Regions from separate parts of the Homo sapiens genome. Here region 2 is linked to region 1. The links are contacts of gene promoters, found by promoter capture Hi-C in blood cells and fetal thymus (Javierre and others, 2016). All regions are on one chromosome and are shown on one strand. The core of a region is centred on a gene start or on the middle of the fragment in contact, and the rest is flanking DNA. Distances in the headings are between cores, read along the strand shown. Region 1 holds the start of C14orf180 (chromosome 14 open reading frame 180). Region 2 has its middle 110 kb from the start of LINC02691.

Evidence for each region. Contacts are between HindIII fragments. The CHiCAGO score rates a contact against its expected background, and 5 or more counts as called.
Region 2: a fragment that was not itself captured here is called in contact with the fragment with the promoter of C14orf180 in region 1 in 1 of 17 cell types (endothelial precursors); the score reaches 5.1 in endothelial precursors.

The regions. Positions count from the first base shown.
Region 1 is chr14:104,576,303-104,581,281 of GRCh38, reverse strand. It overlaps C14orf180 (chromosome 14 open reading frame 180), which reads right to left and starts at 1,518. Exons shown (of 5, transcript NM_001008404.3): 1 at 1,279-1,518. The HindIII fragment of the contact is 16,067 bases long and covers 1-4,979 here.
Region 2 is chr14:104,335,782-104,340,044 of GRCh38, reverse strand. No RefSeq gene overlaps it. Among named protein-coding and RNA genes, the nearest start is that of LINC02691, 110 kb to the right of the region's middle. The HindIII fragment of the contact is 3,813 bases long and covers 170-3,982 here.

The DNA of each region.
Region 1 (4,979 bases), core at 269-2,768:
CTTCCGGTGGAAGAAGACTGGGACCATGGACACTGCCTCGCTGGCCTTTCCTCTGCAGGGCGGAGGCAGAACACAGCCAGGCGGGGTGGCTGGGCTCCTGGGAAAAGCCTTGGCTCCCAGCCCAACGCTCACCACTGGAACCACGCTGGCAGCTCCCCAGACAACATGCGTTCTCGACTTAAGTAAGAGGGAGAACTTGTGGGGAGGCCCCTGGCTGGGCTGACCGCCCACTGGGCTTGCTCAGGTGCCTGCAGGCCCTACCAGGTAGGAACAGGAGCAGGAGCTGCCTGGTGGCCCCCTGAGGCCCCTCTCCATGCCTAGATGGGCCCTCACATCCCGAGGTGCAGTTAGGGCTCGAGGTAGCAGCAGTACCGGGTGATGGCTGCTCATCTGCTGGGTGCAGGGGCCACCCTAGGCCTCGAGAGCTCCAGACAGACAGGGCGGGGGACCCCCCCAGGCCCTTCCTCCCATATGTGGAATGGGGGCTGTTTGCCAACTGTCCAGGGCACTGCAAAGCTCAGTAGTGCCCAAGAAATGGCGTGGCGTCCAGTGCTGGGTGGGGGTCCCATGGCCACACAGGGCAGGACAGGGATTCCTTCTGACTGACGGCTCAGAAAAGAGCCAGTTCTCAGGGATTCCCAAACACTGAGAACTAGGCTTCAGTTACTGGAGTAACGAATCCATTCCTGCTAGGCTGGGCCTGCGTAGACTTGCCCTCGGAGGATGCCCCCCACCAAGGCCCTTCAGGGAAGGCTGGCTGGGTTCATGCCTGGCACGGCTGCCTGCATTCCCCTGAGAGTGCAGCCCCTTCTCCCACTGCCCAGGCTGTTTCGCGCAACATCAGGTGCCCTTTGGAAGCTCCTGTGTGGCCAGGAGCACCCCCGCTGCTAAGTTTGAAGTGGCCGTGTTCCCTGCTTCCCCCAGAGGCGGCCTGGCCTCAGTGTGGACACAGGGCCGGCCTGGGACTGTCTCCGTTTTAGGGAAACCATCAGTCCCAGGAGAAGGGGGAAGGGTGGCCACTCTGGAGCTTGTTCAGGTCACTCAGGATCATCAGTGTGTGCTCTGCCCAGTCTCTGCCCACACCTGCTGCCCAGCTGGGGCAGGTTCCCCACCTGCACCTGCCTTTGGCAATCTCTCCGCTCTGCCCAGTCTCTGCCCACACCTGCTGCCCAGCTGGGGCAGGTTCCCCACCTGCACCTGCCTTTGGCAATCTCTCCGCTCTGGCATCTTCATACCCAAGCAGGAAGTGAGCCCCCTCTCCCTGGGGCTGGAACTCACCTGGTTCCCTCCTGGCTCCCCGAGGGACAGAAACAGGCTCTTCGGGATCTCCCTGTGGGGCACAGTCCAGTGAGGTCCTGGACCCTCTTGGCCGGCAGCACCCCTCCCAGGCCCTTGAGAGTTGAGCCTCGGGCAGAACTGCAGGGCACACAGGTGAACGGGCCAGGCCCGCCCAGGCCTCCTTCCCGAGGGCTCTGATCTGGAGGCGCCACCGCCCGCTGGCAGGGCCGGGTCTGTTGTGGCCTTCGTCCCGTCTCCAGCCCTCTCTGCTGGATCGCAAAGCTGGGCCAGCTGGCAGCGGCCAGGCTATAATTACCTCTCCCCTTTGGCAGAAATAGCAGTGAACCCGAGGACAGGCCGCTGGCCCCGGAGCAGAAGGGGGTGGCTGTTTCCCAGGCCCCCGGTGGACAACAGACCATGATTTCAGATAAGACCAGAGTTTGCTGCTGTTCCTACCCCTCCCGGCCCAAATGTGCCCCCTCCCAGGTCAATTCCAGAGCTGTGCAGCTCTTGGAAAAACCTATGGATTGGAATTCGGGGCAGAGTGGGAGAGGGAGGGCACTGTGGGGCTGCGGGAGGTGAGGTGATCACAGAGTCCAGCCTCCAATAAGACCCTGACCCAGCATGGGGCCTCCGTGGTGGCGAGAGTGCCCGCCCTGCCCCAGGCCCCTGTGCCCCTGTGAGTCCTGACCTGGGGTTGCCAGAGGGAGAGGCAAAGAATGGGTCCCAAGCTGCCGTTTTGGGGCACACTGGCCGACCCTCGATATTGCCCTGGCAGGAAGGGGCAATGTATGGGTCAGTGAGCGATGGCAGGGGTGAGGGATCAGCCTTTCTCAGGGTCTGTCCTGGGTGGGCGTCCAACTGCCCTGCCTGGCGCTGCTGAGTCTGCCCCTCATTTGTAGGTGAAAGTGCAGCTCAGAGAGTTGAGGCACCCTGTCCAGAGTCACACAGCCCGGAGGTGGTAGCCTGGCTCAGGCTTGGTGGCCCGTCCTCGCCAGCCCCCCCGTCTGCTGGTGCATGTAAAGGCAGGTCTGAAAGAGGCTGGTGAGGGCATCACTGGCGCAGGGCACCACCACATGTGGGCAGACCCCTGCCTGGTTTGTGGGGCTTTGACCTGTTTCAGGGGACTGCTGGAGGAGGTGTGGAGAGACCCGTGTTTCTCCATTAGGAATGGGGGTGCATCTCCCTTGGGTAAAGCTACAGGACCCCTGGGAGCCCAGGGTGTGCCAGGCTGGGGGACAGTGTGCACAGAGGGTGACTGCTCAGGGCCAGCCGTGGGGCTGCATGGACACAGAGTCCTGGAACCCACCGTCAGAGCATGAGCAACGCAGCCACTGGGATGGGGTTCAGCAGACCGGCCCTCCCCTCACTGCCGTCTTCAGTACAGGGCATGGGGGAGCAAACTTTTCTCTTACAGGGCCATATGGCACACAGTGCGCTCTGTGTCTACACAAACGGGGTGGGCCAGATTGGCAGGAGGGCCTTGGCTCGCTGACGCTTGTTCCAGGGAGAGCACTGAGGAAGGCTGGGTGGTCCTGCTGGCAGTCTGGCTTCCTGGGAAGAGTGAGGTCCTGTAGCCAGACAAGACCCTCTCCCGCCTGTGCCCAATCTGGGCGCTTATCCTTGGCTTCCCAGGGCTGGAGCTGCTCCTCCCAGATTTCAGAGGTCAGGCTGCACTGCCCGAGGTCGGGGGGCTCCGGGACAACTCCTTCCTGACCCTTCTCATTGACAGAGGGGAGGGAACGGTCAGCCCACAGACCTTGGGTGCCGCCCCCTCTCTGTGCTCCCTGGAAAGGCGATGCGGGCTGACCCTGTGGACATTCGCTCTGGGTAATTTATTAGTGAGCTGATGGCTCGGCTCAGGGCTCAGGTCCCAGCGGGGTCATATTTCCGGCCGTATCTGATAGGGCTCGGCTGCACCCTCCTCGCCTCCGTCCATTGCGCCTCACTCCAGCCTGGGCTCTGCAGGGCAAGATAAGGCTGGCCCAGGGGAGTGCTGAGCTGCCGGGTCCGCGGAGGGTCCCCAGTGCCTGTGCCAGGCAGTGCCAGGGAAGAGCCCAGTTGTGTCAGGCCTGCCTGCAGCCGGCAGGTGGGCACATGTGCCCACGGGCAGTGGTGCCAATGACGTGGTGCCCAGGTTTGGGCCCAGCTCTGTCACTGTTCAGCCAGGTGACCTCCGCCACACCCTCATCTCTCCCCGGGAGCTGGGAATGATCGGATGCCCCACCCTCCCCAGATCTTTGTGGTGCACCCACCCTGAGCAGTGCCCCGGGAACACAGCAACTAAGGCCAGCTGTCATTCAGCGGGAGGGCGGAGCATGTCCAGTGGCTGGGCACTCCTGAGCGCTGGGAAAGTCCAGCGAGCTGGCTGGGCTGGGCTGTTTCCTTGGGGTGGTCCTGGAAGGTGGCCGGGGTGGAGTAGGGCGGCACGTGGGAGTGGAGGCTGCAGGGGCTGGAGATTGTGGCTACTCTGGTCATGGCCACGTGGTGCTGGCCTAGACTCCCAGCTCTCCCTGGACCATGGTCTGGCTGGAGTGCGGAGAGCCCTGGGCCTCAGCATGGCCTCATACATGGCTCCAGGCAGGGTCGGGGGTGGGGCTGGAGGGTGTGGAGGCCCTAGGCTGACCTGGGCCAGAGAAGAAAGGGCCGGTGGGTGGGGGAGATGGGGGTGGGGTCCACAGCTGGTTGAAGCAGAAGGACCCCAGGCACAAGAGAGGCCAGCGTTGGCCCAGGGGGTGGGAGTTGGCCGTGGCCCTCTTGCGCAGAGGCCTGGAGGCTGGCCCTTCCCCTGTCTGGCATACAGCCCGGGGGGAAATTCGTGCAGGCTGGCCGACTGCAGCACCAGGGCTTGTGGTGGAAATGGGTCCAAAGGTTCTCCAGGCGTCTCCGGGGCTCAGGGCTGCACCCCTGTCAGCTGAGGCTGTCCTGAGCCCAGCTCCCTCTGTGGTAGTGAAAACGCCCAGCTGAGGCTGTCCTGAGCCCAGCTCTCTCTGCTGCAGTGGGAATGCCCAGCTGAGGCTGTCCTGAGCCCAGCTCCCTCTGTGGCAGTGAAAACACCCAGCTGAGGCTGTCCTGAGCCCAGCTCTCTCTGCTGTAGTGGGAACACCCAGCTGAGGCTGTCCTGAGCCCAGCTCCCTCTGTAGCAGGAGGAACGCCGGGCTGAGGCTGTCCTGATCCCAGCTCCCTCTGCCGTAGGGGGAACGCCCAGCTGAGGCTGTCTTGAGCCCAGCTCCCTCTGCTGTCGTGGGAACGCCCAGCTAAGGCCGTCCTGAGCCCAGCTCCCTCTGGGGCAGTGAAAATGCAGCTGAGGCTGTCCTGATCCCAGCTCCCTCTGCTACAGTGGGAATGCATCTTTGTAGCTCTCGTCTCTGCAGTGGGTCGTCAGCTGCTTCATGACCACAGGAAACCCCCTGAGAGGGCTTGGTTGAGGGTCTCCAGCTGGGTGGGGACGGTGGCTGATGGGGTCATGAGAGGCCCCATAAACCATGACCACGGTGAGAAGGCCCTGGAGAGGACTACGGGAGAGGGCAGGCAGGGGTGGCGGTGGTGGGTGAGTCCAGGGCCGGTGGAGGCCGCATGAGCAGGTCTTTGCCACTGGCACACTCAGAGCCAGTGCTAGGTCAGGAGGGACAAGGAGTGAAGTCCTCACAGGACTTGCCACGTGGTGGTCACAGGTGGGCTTGGCCCAGGCACCCTGGGGG
Region 2 (4,263 bases), core at 827-3,326, 240 kb after region 1:
CCCCAGCCTCCCAAGAAGCTGGGATTACAGACATGCACTGCCACTCACTGCTAATTTTCAAAAAGTTTTGTAGAGACAGGGTCTCACTATGCTGCCCAGGCTGGTCTTGAACTCTTGAGCTCAAGTGATCCTCCTGCCTTGGCCTCCCAAAGTGCTGGGATTACAAGCTTGAGCCACTGTGCCTACTCAGAAATGCCTTTTGAAAATCCTCTAGGGAATTCTGATTGTGATCATAGACTGAACATATGCATCTCACTTTCTCTCCACACTCCTACTAAAACTATAATGAGAGGTTTTTTAATGACATAAACTCTTAGGGATGAGAAGAACACAACAGGAAGAGGGGAAGTGTACTTTATGACAGACTAAATCATAAACAACTAACAGTAAACAGTAAAACACAACAAAATTTTGGAAGCTGGAAAGCAGATAGACAAGTGCTAACTGCCTTAGCAGACTTGAGAAAGACAACTCCTGAGCCAGCAAGGGAAAAACTGTGAATAAGTCTGATTTGCTCCCAAGAATATTTAAAATCTCAGGAACTGGCAGCAGCAGGTGTCTCTAGGACTGACGATGAAGGGGGAGTGGCAGAGCCAGGACTAGGATGAGGCTAACAAGATGCCAGAGCACAACACTTAAGGAGCAACATCCTTAGCCATTAGAGAAGTGCAAATTCAGACCATGATGAGATACCACTACATACCAGTTGAACACCTAAAATGAATAGTGATAATACCAAATGCTGGGGAGGATGTGGAGAAACTGGAGATCACTCATACATTGCTGGTGAGAATTTAAGGTAGTACAACCACCTGGAAAACAGTCTGGCAATTTCTTATGAAACCAAACGTACTCTTACCCTATGACCCAGCAATTACACTCTTGGTCGTTTACCCTAAAAAATAAAAATTTATATTCACATGCAAAATCTGTACACTGTTGTTCATAGCAGCTTTATTTGTAATAGCCAAAACCTAGAAACAACCAAAATTTCCTGTAATAGGTGCATGGTTGAACAAATTGCTGTACATCTATGCTATGGAGTATTAGCAATAAGAAGGAGCACTGTTGATGCATGCAGTAACTCAGATGGCTCTCAAGGGAATTGTGCTGGGAGGGGGGACAATCTCAAAAGGTCACATGCTTTACAACTTCATTTATACAACATTCTCAAAATGACAAAATTATAGAGATTGAAAAAAGATTAGTGGTTGCTAGTTTTCTCTAGAAAATAGGAGAAAAGTGAAAGGACTATCCAGTATGGTGGTGAGGGAAGATCCAGGCATACAGGGCAACCAGTCTAGATCAGAGCAGATTTTTCAGGACACCAGAATATTGAAGGTTGTCAGGGCTGATGAACCATCTTTTCACATCATTTACCCACAAAATGGTTCATGCCAAACAAGGGAGCAAACCAAGAAAGGAAGACATGAATGAGATCCAGGAAACAGGGACCCCCACCTGGGAGAAAAGCATCAGCAGAGGCAAGTCCCGGGACGAAGTGTGCAGCCAGCCCAGATGAGAGGAGAAAAAGATCTTCAGGCAGAGGGTTTACAGGAATATGTGATGTGGAAAAGTGCACAAAAAGGACATTTGAAGATGTGGGAAGAATTAGTAATAGGTTAGAAAAAAAAAAAGTAAGCAAATCAAAAAGCAAGGCAATGAATAACTTTAGGAAACACAGAAAGTAAAAAAGGAAACATAATTGGAGTATACTATAATGTTAGGCTGAGCTATGAATGTTATATAGACAATGTAAAGGTACAAACTTTACTTAAGCAAAAATTGTAGTATAACTATACTGGAAGAGAAGAAAGGAGAGCACAGGAGCTAGCAGAATGCAAGGGCTAAATTCTCATCACTGTAACAGGAAATTTTAAAAATTATATTCTAAATGAATTAATAAAAAGGCAGCAATATATACACAATATTTAGAAAAATGCAGATGTGTAAATGCCAGAACAAAAAAATTTTAAGTCAATCATGGTTAATTCTAGAGGTGACACTGGCAGGATCAGGGAAGAGAAGATCAGTGAACATACCATTTAGTACTGTGTGAGTTTTGTTGTTTCAGCTATATACATGCTCAATAATAGACAATTGGATTAGATAGGATTGGACTGGATTTAAATTGTATTTATCTATTAAGTCAAAATAAAATAATATGATATCATTTTACTACAACCAAATTTGCACAAATTAAGAAGCAGATCAATTCTAGGTACTGGAAAGGATGAGTGGGCAATAGGATGTCTCAGCCACAGCTGTCAGAGCTACACTTACTTTGGAAAACAGTTTCTCACACCTAGTAGAGGTGACTTGCACATAACTAAAAAGCCAGCAACTCCTCACCGGGTGCCATCTCTAGAGGACCCCAAACCTTTTCCAACTCCTGGCAGAAAACAGCAGTACTTATATGACACAATGGAGTAAATGGGCGAGGCTGCTCCAGGCTGCAAGGCCAGACAGAAAGTCCAGGGTCCAAGCTGCTCCAGCCCTGCTGGCTGCTCAGACAGAGTGGGGCCCCATTGCTTAAACATGCCTGCACCCCAATCACAGCATTCCAGCAGGCTCACCCAGAGAAAGGCTCATGCACACGCACCTGGAGATGTATACCAGGATGTTTATAGCAGCACTGTGATTGTAAAAAGCCTGCAGACAACATAAATGTCCATCAGCGATAGAACTGATCAACAAATTGTGACATATTCACACAACGGAGTACCCAACAGCAATAAAGACTAATGAACTGCACCATAAACATTCAAATGGATAGTCCTCATGCATATAGTATTGAATGAAAGACCAAGACACAAACGTTATATATGAAGAAGGTTCTATTTACATAAGGTCTAAAAGCAGCTCAAACAAGACAATATGTTATTTAGGATCACAGATATAAATGGCAAAAACGATCAAGGAAAACAAGGGAAAGATGAACACAAATTCAAGTTCGCATTACCCGGGAACACTGGGGATTGAAGAAGAGAGTATGATTAGGGAGGAGCATTCCGTGGGCTGTTGAGGCTCCGGGAGGATTTTATCCAAGTGGTGGCTACAGAGGAGTTTACATGATTATTAATCTTCTTTTTCTTCTTTAAACCATATACATACATTTTATACTCTTATATATGCCATATAAAATGTTAATAAAATTAAAATGATTAGCAAGAAAATAAGCAAAATGCAATAGTTAATACTGTAATCCTCTTACTCTCCTCTCCAACCATACAGGATCTGAGAATACTTTCACTCCCAACACTGACCTCCTATCTATATGTAATTATTATCAAGCATTTTATTTCTACCTTGTTCTTTTTAGTCAGACATTACCACCATGGCTTCATATTGTCAATGTTTACTGAAGTGTACCCACATGTCTCACCTTTCTTTGCTTGCTATTCTTTCTTTTGCTTTAGAACATCCTCCTAGATCATTTTCCCTCTTCCTAAAGTAGGGATTATTGTTAACAAATTCTTCCCACTTTTAGCTGAAAATATCCTTATTCATTCCAGGTCTTAAAAATATTTTTTTTCTCAGGCATGTGACTGTAGGTCATGCATAGATTACCAGTTGCCCCCAATATCTGCGGTCCCCTTCTTCAGTAATAGAACACACAATTTTCACTGGGCAGGTGTCTTCCAGGAATAAAGGCTACATTGCCCAGCCCTGTTTGCAGTGCGGTCTGCCATGTGACTAAGATCTGGCGATGGAAAGGAAACCTCAGGAATAAAGGCCATGCATGGTGGAGCAACAGGACAGAAGCAGCCACGGCTCCTGATGCCAAGTTCACAACAGCAGCCCTGGACCTGCCCCCTTCCAGCTTCAGAAACACACAGACAAACACACAGACAAATACACTTCTATCATGTTGAAGTCATGATTATTGGGGAGCTTTCTATTCTATCCAGCAGAACCTAATTCTAATTAGATATAGGAGTGAGAGGCAGCAGAAAATCCTCTGAAAACAAATACAGAAGCTTCCAGCCCATTACTTGCCCCCTTGGCTGGGTGCTCTGTGCTCACTGGTTAATCTTCACAGAAGCCCTGTGAGGAGCACACATGTCCCCTGTTTATCAGAACAAGAAACCGAGTCCCACAGACGGTGCGTGGCTTGCTTGGCATTGCACACAGTGTGCCTTGGGCTCCATGTGGCTGGTGCTCTCTGCTCCTCTCCAAACGGATCCCTTTCTTCCAGGGCCCAGGGCCCAGGGTCCCGCAGAAGACAGTGGGCAGACAGTCTCAGGCCATCGACAGGATGCT